3 separate regions of the Homo sapiens genome follow, and all the other regions are linked to region 3. The links are contacts of gene promoters, found by promoter capture Hi-C in blood cells and fetal thymus (Javierre and others, 2016). All regions are on one chromosome and are shown on one strand. The core of a region is centred on a gene start or on the middle of the fragment in contact, and the rest is flanking DNA. Distances in the headings are between cores, read along the strand shown. Region 1 overlaps FAM171A1 (family with sequence similarity 171 member A1). Region 2 overlaps NMT2 (N-myristoyltransferase 2). Region 3 holds the start of FAM171A1 (family with sequence similarity 171 member A1).

What was found. Contacts are between HindIII fragments. The CHiCAGO score rates a contact against its expected background, and 5 or more counts as called.
Region 1: a contact is called between a fragment that was not itself captured here and the fragment with the promoter of FAM171A1 in region 3, in 3 of 17 cell types (endothelial precursors, megakaryocytes and erythroblasts). The highest score is 9.0, in endothelial precursors.
Region 2: a contact is called between a fragment that was not itself captured here and the fragment with the promoter of FAM171A1 in region 3, in 3 of 17 cell types (endothelial precursors, non-activated CD4 T cells and naive CD4 T cells). The highest score is 7.0, in endothelial precursors.

What each region holds. Positions count from the first base shown.
Region 1 is chr10:15,223,568-15,226,518 of GRCh38, forward strand. All of the region lies in intron 5 of FAM171A1 (family with sequence similarity 171 member A1), which reads right to left. The region is part of intron 1 of FAM171A1-AS1 (FAM171A1 antisense RNA 1); the gene reads left to right. Among named protein-coding and RNA genes, the nearest start is that of FAM171A1-AS1, 16 kb to the left of the region's middle. The HindIII fragment of the contact is 3,247 bases long and covers 1-2,905 here.
Region 2 is chr10:15,129,163-15,132,030 of GRCh38, forward strand. It overlaps NMT2 (N-myristoyltransferase 2), which reads right to left. Exons shown (of 12, transcript NM_004808.3): 7 at 980-1,150. Among named protein-coding and RNA genes, the nearest start is that of RPP38, 33 kb to the left of the region's middle. The HindIII fragment of the contact is 2,415 bases long and covers 263-2,677 here.
Region 3 is chr10:15,369,840-15,372,539 of GRCh38, forward strand. It overlaps FAM171A1 (family with sequence similarity 171 member A1), which reads right to left and starts at 1,450. Exons shown (of 8, transcript NM_001010924.2): 1 at 1,117-1,450. The coding sequence starts at 1,213. RefSeq lists silencers at 1,207-1,436, 1,447-1,496. The HindIII fragment of the contact is 10,313 bases long and covers 1-2,700 here.

The sequences.
Region 1 (2,951 bases), core at 32-2,531, 150 kb before region 3:
AAACACACGATAACCAATTGAAACAGACTTTAAAAAATAGCTCCACATTGGCTGGGGGTGGTGGCTCATGCCTGTAATCCCAGCACTTTGGGAGGCTGAGGCTGGTGGATCACTTGAGGTCAGGAGTTTGAGACCAGTCTGAGCAACACAGCAAAACCCCGTCTCTACTAAAACTATGAAAATTAGCTGGGTGTGGTGGCTCCCATCTGTAATTCCAGCAACTGGGGTGGCTGAGGCAGGAGAATCACTTGAACCTGTGAGGCGGAGGTTGCGGTGAGCTGAGATTGAGCCACTGCACTCCAGCCTGGGCGACAGAGCAAGATTCTATCTCAATTAAAAATAAAACAAAACAAAACAAAAAAAACCCCTCCACATTACATTTGGGACAAGCCTAGTGGGTGACCACATATATAGACCCCACCAGACTAATGAGTCCCCAAGTTCACTCTGGAGGGCCTGCAGTCCAGCAGTGGTGCTGGTGGAGGCCAGAAAGTCCATTGGCTGAAGAAGACATAGCTGCTTGGAGGGTCAGCTAGGAAACACCCACCTGGGGTGGGTGTAGAAGGATTGGGATGAGTTTAGTTTTGATGAACAGGCAGGGGTTGTCAGTGATGGGGAGAGATGGGGCAGGGCGGGAGCCAGGAGAAAGAGAAGGAGGACATTCTACCCAGGGATCAGTGTGTACAAAGGCCTGGTGTGGTGGGCCTGGATGACATGTGAAGATGGAAGTGGGGATGGGAGCACAGAGGCCCCGGGTGAACAGGACGGAGCAGCTGTGCCCGGGCTGGAAAGGAGTTAGGCATCCTTCTGGGACGATCTTCACACCCCATTTGCTGCAGGAGGACATGGGGGACCTGGAAACGGAGGCACACATGGTTGGAGCTTCTCCCACTTCCTTCCTCTCTTCTACCCCTGATAGGGTTTGGCTATGTCCCCACCCAGATCTCATCTTGAATTGTAGCTCCCACAATTCCTGTGTGTTGTGGGAGGCACCTGGTGGGAGATAACTGAATCATGGCGGCAGGTCTTTCCTGTGCTGTTCTTGTGATAGTGAATAAGTCTCAGGAGATCTAATGGTTTTATAAGGGGGAGTTTCCCTTTACAAGTTTTCTCTCTTGCCTGCCACCATGTAAGATGTGCCTTTTGCCTTCTGCCATGATTGTGAGGCCTCCCCAGCCATGTGGAACTGTGAGTCTATTAAACCTCTTTTTCTTTATAAATTTCCCAGTCTCAGGTATGTCTTTATCAGCAGCGTGAAAACAGACTAATACAGTCCCCAACCCCCTCTTTAGTTCCTGCCAGGCAGTCTTCACAATGCACACCTCTACCCATTCTGTGACTTTGCCTGCAAATGTAGCTCCAACCTCATATAGTTTTTCTCTCTTCCAAAAATCTACCCAGTCTTTCAAGATTCAAATCAAGCCCAGTGTTTTTCCAGAGGCCTTTCTAGGACACATGGGTCTTCCGTGTCTTGGCACATCCTGGGCAAGTGTTACTGCATCACCCATTTGCCAAAAACACACGTTGCCTTCCGTGGCTAGCCTGTGGCCCTCAGTCTTATCTCCTTTCTTAGATCGTAAACTCCATGGGTGTGGCCTGTGTCTTGCGTTCCTTTTGTTTTCTTCTCAGCACCTAGAGATATGCATAGAGTAGGAACTCCAGAGACCTTCAGAATGAGTGGAAGCTACAGGTGCAATCAAAAAATAATATCTGGTAACCTGTGAAAGGCTGGGTGCAGTAGGCAGGGAAGGATATCCCCATGGCAGTCTGATCATGCCTGGGATGCTGCCCTTTCAAACTAAAGGGAACAGAACCAGCTGGGGAAGAGCCTACTATGGCTAAAGCGTGACACTCTTTGGGGATTCAACAATCATGCTGTTACTGGCAAAAGCATTTCATGCTTTCCGTGTTTTGTGGGAGGAAATAAGCTCCAGGGAGTATGGGAATTAGCAAATTGTGTACTAGAAACACATGCTTCTCATGGCGGAATCCTGATGCCACTGTGGGATGCAGACAGTTTCACCACCGGAGCAGCGGGCACCAGGGCCAGGATTCTTTACTGGTGGTACCGGATGGCAGAGCACACAGGCCTCTGCAAAGTCTCTTCTGCTGAATATGGGACCGCTGGGTGTTGCAACCAGGAAGGGCGCCCTTTCATCATGCGGTGAGAGCCTCGGGCACTGCTGAGACAGAGCAAGGGAGGAACCAGGTTGTTCCTGCTGCACGAACCAAAGAAAGCTCCACTGCAAGGCCTCTCAAGTCGGCCCACCTGCCCCTAAGCATGGAGGCCTTGGGATGCTCCTGGGTGAGGACATCTGCCCAGAGGGCTCTCCTTCTTAAGCCTGTCTCCTTGGGGTCTGACAGACAACAGTCCCTAATGTGACAGCAGCCCAGCTGGGCTACCTGCTCAAGCCCCCTTCACCCTGAGCTTCTCTTTCTGCCCTTCCCAGCCTCTTCCAGGGGCTTACCACTGCCTCTTAGTGTCCTCTGCACAAGCAAGCAGCTGAGGTGGCCGCTGGGACTTGCAGACTCAAGGCAAGGTCATGTGGTGAAGGCAAGCAGGACCCTACAGCCTCCTCCTGCCTCACCCCAGAAACCCAGGCTTCTTCCTGCAGAAGCCGCACCACTGCAGCTGCGCCAACCTGGTCGTGCAGCCGGCATTTTAGGAGGTGGCTGGACAATGACATGTGCCTCTCTGTTCCAATCAACGCCTATGGCTGGGCCTGTTACCGGGACTGCATGTGTGTGAAGGTTACGGGGTGATCTCTCTGGCATCATCAAGGGATGAAATTCTGCGTTACTGAAATTTCTACATCATTGATTGTTACATAGTTTTTAAAGCATTTGAACCCCCTCTTTAATGGATTCTTAGGCAGAAACTAATACATGAAACAGATAAAAGGTAAGCTTCCCTGCATGAGGGCAAAGAGACGTCCCCCCAATCCCCACCA
Region 2 (2,868 bases), core at 220-2,719, 240 kb before region 3:
ACAACTTTTTGAAAACTAGCTTAAATTTCTTCAGTGATTCCAGGCTCTGGGATAAGTGATTTATATTAAAATATACCCCTGAAGTCTAGTATTCCATTTACTTAACGAATGTAATAATTTAACAGGATATAGTAATTTTAAGTTTCATCCTATTTGAGTCAATAAAAACAGTGGTGAGGGGTGGGGAGATAAACTCTGATGTTTTAGAAACAGGTTAGTCTTGTGGGAATCTGATCATTTTCTCACTGGAATAACCTGTGAAAGCTTGACTAGTGCAGACGAAGTTGTAAAAACATAGCTTAGGTCTTCCTACTCTGAACAAACAAATACATCTGAGGCTTTTGAATGGATGCTTATTAGACTTTCAGGACACTTTGGTGGTGCTGCAAAGCATGGCAGAAAACTGATCTTTGGGGTGGAAAGAAAATGGTATGACATTGGAATTTTAAGATCATCATGTCCTAGGTTTTCCCATGTAGAGACAGCATTCATCTTTCACATGGAATAGACTTAGAAGTATAGATCCACACGAGGTCAGGAGTTCAAGACCAGCCTGACCAACATGGTGAAACCCTGTCTCTACTAAAAATACAAAAATTAGCTGTGTGTGGTGGCACATGCCTGTAATCCCAGCTACTCGGGAAGCTGAGGCAGGAGAATCACTTGAACCCAGGAGGCGAGTTTGCGGTGAGCCAATATCACGCCACTGCATTCCAGCCTGGGCAACAGAGTAAGAGTCTGCCTCAAAAAAAAAAAAAAAAAAAAAAGTATAGATCCAGCATCATTAGTAGGAAAATGTCAAAAACTTTTTTTTAATCACCAAGTGGCAAATGATATACCAGAAAGAATACTGGACTTGGTGATTCTAGGTTCTAGTCTCCATCTCTGCTACCAGCAAAAACTACATCTAGCAGAACAGTGGTGAGGCTCAACATTTTTGATAAAGGGAGGACCTGAGGTAGAAATATGGTACTGGTACCTGCATGTGGCTATGGGCTTAGGAAGAACCACTCCCGCGGTGTACACAGCCTGGAAGATCCCTTCCAGGTTCACTCTTCTAGTGATCTCTCGGATTAGCACTGGGGCTACCCGTTTCGATCTCAACTTCTTATGAACACAAAGAAAGTTGATTTCTACCATCTTCTTCACACTAAGAAATAAAGATGGTGAAGATTAAGAGTCAAAACGAGATTCAAAATGAAGAGTCAACACATTTTAAAAAATAAGATGATACCCAGGAAATATCCAAGAATAAGAATGCAGGCTGGGAACACTGGCTGTCGCCTGTAATCTCAGCACTTTGGGAGGCCAAGGCAGGTGGATTGCTTGAGACCAGGAGTTCCAGACCAGCCTGGGCAACACTGAGACTCTCATCTCTACAAAAAACAAACACCAGCCAGTCATGTTGCCGCATGCATGTGGTCCCAGCTACTTGGGAGGCTGAGGTGGAAGGATCACTTGAGCCTGAGAGGCAGAGGGTGCAGTGAGCCATGATTGCATCACTGCCCTCCAGCCTGGACAACAGAGCAAGGCCCTGTCTCAAAAAAAAAAAAAAAAAAAAAAAAGAAAAGAAAGAAAAAGAAAAAAAAGAACATAAAGGCCATTCTATTTTCTTCTTTCTTTCTTTTTTTTTTTTTTTTTTTTTGAGACAGATTGTCGCACTGTCACCCAGGCTGGAGTGCAATGGCGCAATCTTGGCTCACTGTAACCTCTTACTCCTGGGTTCAAACGATTCTCCTGCGTCAGCCTCCTAAGTAGCTGGAATTACAGGTGCACGCCACCATGCCCAGCTCATTTTTGTATTTTTAGTAAAGACAGGGTTTCACCATGTTGGCTACGCTGGTCTCGCATTCCTGACCTCATGATCTACCTGCCTCGATCTCCCAAAGTGCTGGGATTATAGGCGTGAACCACCCACCGCACCTGGCCTGAAAGCCATTCTTTAACACAATATTTAACAAAAATATTCTATCACTTAGACATTTCACAAATTCAGACGGAAACACTATTCCCCATATCTCCCTGCCAAAATGATTGTAAAACGCACGGAGGCTCCAACCCTCTTGTTCTAAATACATTTTGGGACTTTGGTCCATTATACGTTTTCAGTTTAGAAAATGGATCAGCTATGGCTCTTTACGTTTCTTTCCTTTTTTTTTTTTTTCCTTTTTTGAGATGAGGTCTCGCTATGTTGACCAGGCTGGTCTCGACCTCCTGGCCTCAAGCAATCCTCCCATCTCAGCCTCCCAGTGCTAGGATTACAAGCATGAATCACTACGACCTGCCCGTCTTTAAGTTTCTAGATCTGTTTTTCCTAAATTATGGTAATAACTGAGTCATCCTGGTGCAGAATCTGATAAGATGTTGCTTTGGAGTGTGATACAAACCCCTGGGACCCCTGAGAGGGGCTTTGAGCAGACCAGAGCTGGTGCGCTCTGAACTACAGTAAACCTCCTAGATCTTCAAATCCTGTTCCTGGTTCTGTTTCCAGGTACACACTTCATTTGGCACAAAATATTCCTTGAGATCAAATGCTTTTCACAGTAAATAAGCTAACCTAATACACTGACAAGTAAAGAGACCAATTATATATGACATCTTTGACTTTCATAGCTGGATCTTTGACTTTCCGGGCTGGAGATCCAAACTAAAAGTGCAATGTATCCTATGGAGAGAAAGCTTTATCTCTCCTAAAAAATTTTTAAGTAATTTTTTTTTTTTGAGATGAAGTCTTGCTCTGTCACCCATGCTGGAGTGCAGTGGTATAATCTTGGCTCACTGCAATCTCTTCCTCCTGGGTTCAAGTGATTCTCGTGCCTCAGCCTCCCAAATAGCTAGGATTACAGGCACGTGCCACTATGCTGGCTA
Region 3 (2,700 bases), core at 200-2,699:
GACACACACCCTTCTGAGGGGACAGGCCTCGGGCTCGGAATCCCGGGGTTCTGCAGGGCTGCAGGGAGCTCCCTCGCAGAGACCTGAGCCCCCGGCAAGAGTCCAGGCAGCGGTGCCCTGGGTGAATGCAGAGGCTCATCTGCGGGCCTCAGTGGCCCTTTTGAAAACGCCAGCAACAGAGGAGTCCTCGACGCTGTCCCCACAAAAATGTGCCAAGCAAGCCTCAGGGTGGGTGTGGGGGACTCCCCTCAAAAAACGCTGATTTTAAAAACAAAAGACAGGCTCGTGGCCATTCTCAGAGGCGACCACGTTACTCCCAGGGCTGGAAAGCAGATTTGTGGAGGCCAAAGACGAGACAAAAGGCACGAGCTGGCGACAAACTGATCTGGAAAGGATTTTTCTTTTTTTTTTTTTTTTTTTTGGTGAGCGATGAGGGCCTCCCAGTTCAATTCTTTCTTCCCTTACAGAGAAGACTCATGGGCCGCTGAGCAAATCCCTTATGGTCTGGAAGAGACGTCAGATAGGCAGGGGGAGAGAACCCCCCAAACTTTCCCAAACTGCGGCAGGCTAGTGGCTAGTGGCGGCAGCGGACCTCGGGGCCCCGGGACACAGGGGGCACCCCGGGGCGTCAGCCACCCCCTCCCGCCACAACAAAAGGCCCCAGCGCAGCCCAGGAGCTGGGACTTCCCAGACCCGAGCCCGGCGTGGGGAGCCGGGAGCGCGATCGGGCGGCGCGCCCTGGGCGGCCCCTCTGTCCGCGGCGACATGGGAGACAGAGCCGCGTGTCCGAGGCGCGGCATAAAGGGGACCCCCGGGCGCATCCAGACGAGCCCCCGCCGCAGCGGCGACAGCAGCTGGAGCTGCCCGCGCCCCCGCCCGACCCAGCCCCCGATCCCCGGCCCCCGAAGCCTCCGCCCGGGTCACCCCGCGTCGCCGGCCCGCGCCGCCCCCTCGGGAGCGCGTTGCGGGTGCTGCAGGCCCGGAGGCTCCCGATGCGGCTCGGGCTGCGTCGCCACCACGCGGCCCGGGACCCTCCCGCCGCCGCCGCCGCCGCCGCCGCCTCCGCGCCAGGCCCGGCGCGACACAAAGCCCCCGGCCCCGCCGCCGCCCACTGACCTTGGGCTCCGGCGCCGGGCTCCCGCAGCGTCTTGGTCACCGCCTTCCAGACGTGGCAGCCCAGCAGGCACAGCAGCAGCGTCGCGGACCTGCTCATCTCCGCCGCGGGGCCGGCGGCGGCTCGGGCTCGCCGAGAGCGGGCCGGGCGGCGGCGCGTCACGGGCGGCCGGGCGCCGCGCCCCCCTCCATGTCGCTGGCTCCGCGCGCCGGGCCCGCCGCCCGATTGGCCCGGCCCCGCCGCCCCGGCCGCTCCCTCCCGCGCCCCGCGCCGGGTTTCCCCGAAGAGCCGCGGCGGCGGCGGCGGCGGCGGCTGCTGCTGCTCCGCCAGCTCCTTAACCCCTTCCTGCCTCGCCCGCCGCCGCCGCCGCTGCCCGCGCCCAGGCCCCGGGCCCGTGGTGCCACCTGGCGGCTGCGGCGCCGAGGGCGCCCCCGCCCGGCGCCGCTGCGTCGCGCCCCCAGCCCGACCCCCGGCGACACTGCCCCGGCGCGCCCCATCCCCGCAGCCCCGCAGAAGAGCCAGACCTGCCTTTCAGGGCGGAGCCCTTTTCATCACACCAGGTCACCCAAGGGGCCGCAGGAGACATTGTATCTGGGTGTGACCCCCCCACCAGGTGCCATCCTAATGTAGTTGTGTCCCCCAACGTAGATTTCACACCCAGTGTTAAAGATCCGCAAAAACACTCCCCAAGCCAGTATAGACTGCAGTAGGCCTGCAGTACCTACGTGTTGGCGGGTGGACAGCTTCAGGAGGAATGGTACTTGGATGGTTCTAGGGGTTAGGGTGGGGAGGAAATCCACATCTTTTGAGGCCCTAGGTGCTTTAAAACTTTCTGTCCTATTAAAGAAAAAAGACTATTCCATGACACGTGTGAAAGCACAGCAAAGAAGACCCTCTTTGGAACCATCGCAATAGGTATAAGCCCTACCATGGGATTCTGCAGTCGGGGAGAAAGGTTGGGTTCAACTCTGAATACAGCAGGAACAAGTGGGGATTTATAACCGAGGACCAGGGTGGGATGCAGGGAATGAAAAATTATAAGAGGAAACATCAGGGGGAAGGGGGATTCTTGAAAGTCAGACATCCCCTGGCAGGGCTGGGCAGGACAGGGCGGATGGGGAAGCTGATCAGATATCCAGGGTGGAGGGTTCTTGGTAAACTGACTTAGCAGGGTTCTTCCTGAAAGCAGATTTTACAAGGAAGGGCACAACTGAGCCTAGAAGAAGGTTCCGGAGCCTGACTGTAGTTCGGTCAAGCAGAGACTCTTTGTCCATCTTCACAATACATGATCTAAGAGGTAGTTAGCATTATCCCCCCCATTCACAGATGAGAAAAGAGGCTAAAGAGGGTTAAGGAATTTGTCCAAAAGTGCATACCTGGTCAGTGGCAGAGCCAAAATTCTAATAAAACAGTCAGTCTGACCCCAAAATTGAAACTCTTCACAAAAACCTCCAGACTTGGCTGGGTGTGATGGTTCATGCCTATAATCCCAACACTTTGGGAGGCTGAGGTAGGTGGATGGCCTGAGTTCAGGAGTTAAGAGACCAGCTGGGCCAACATGGTGAAACCCTGTCTCTACCAAAAAT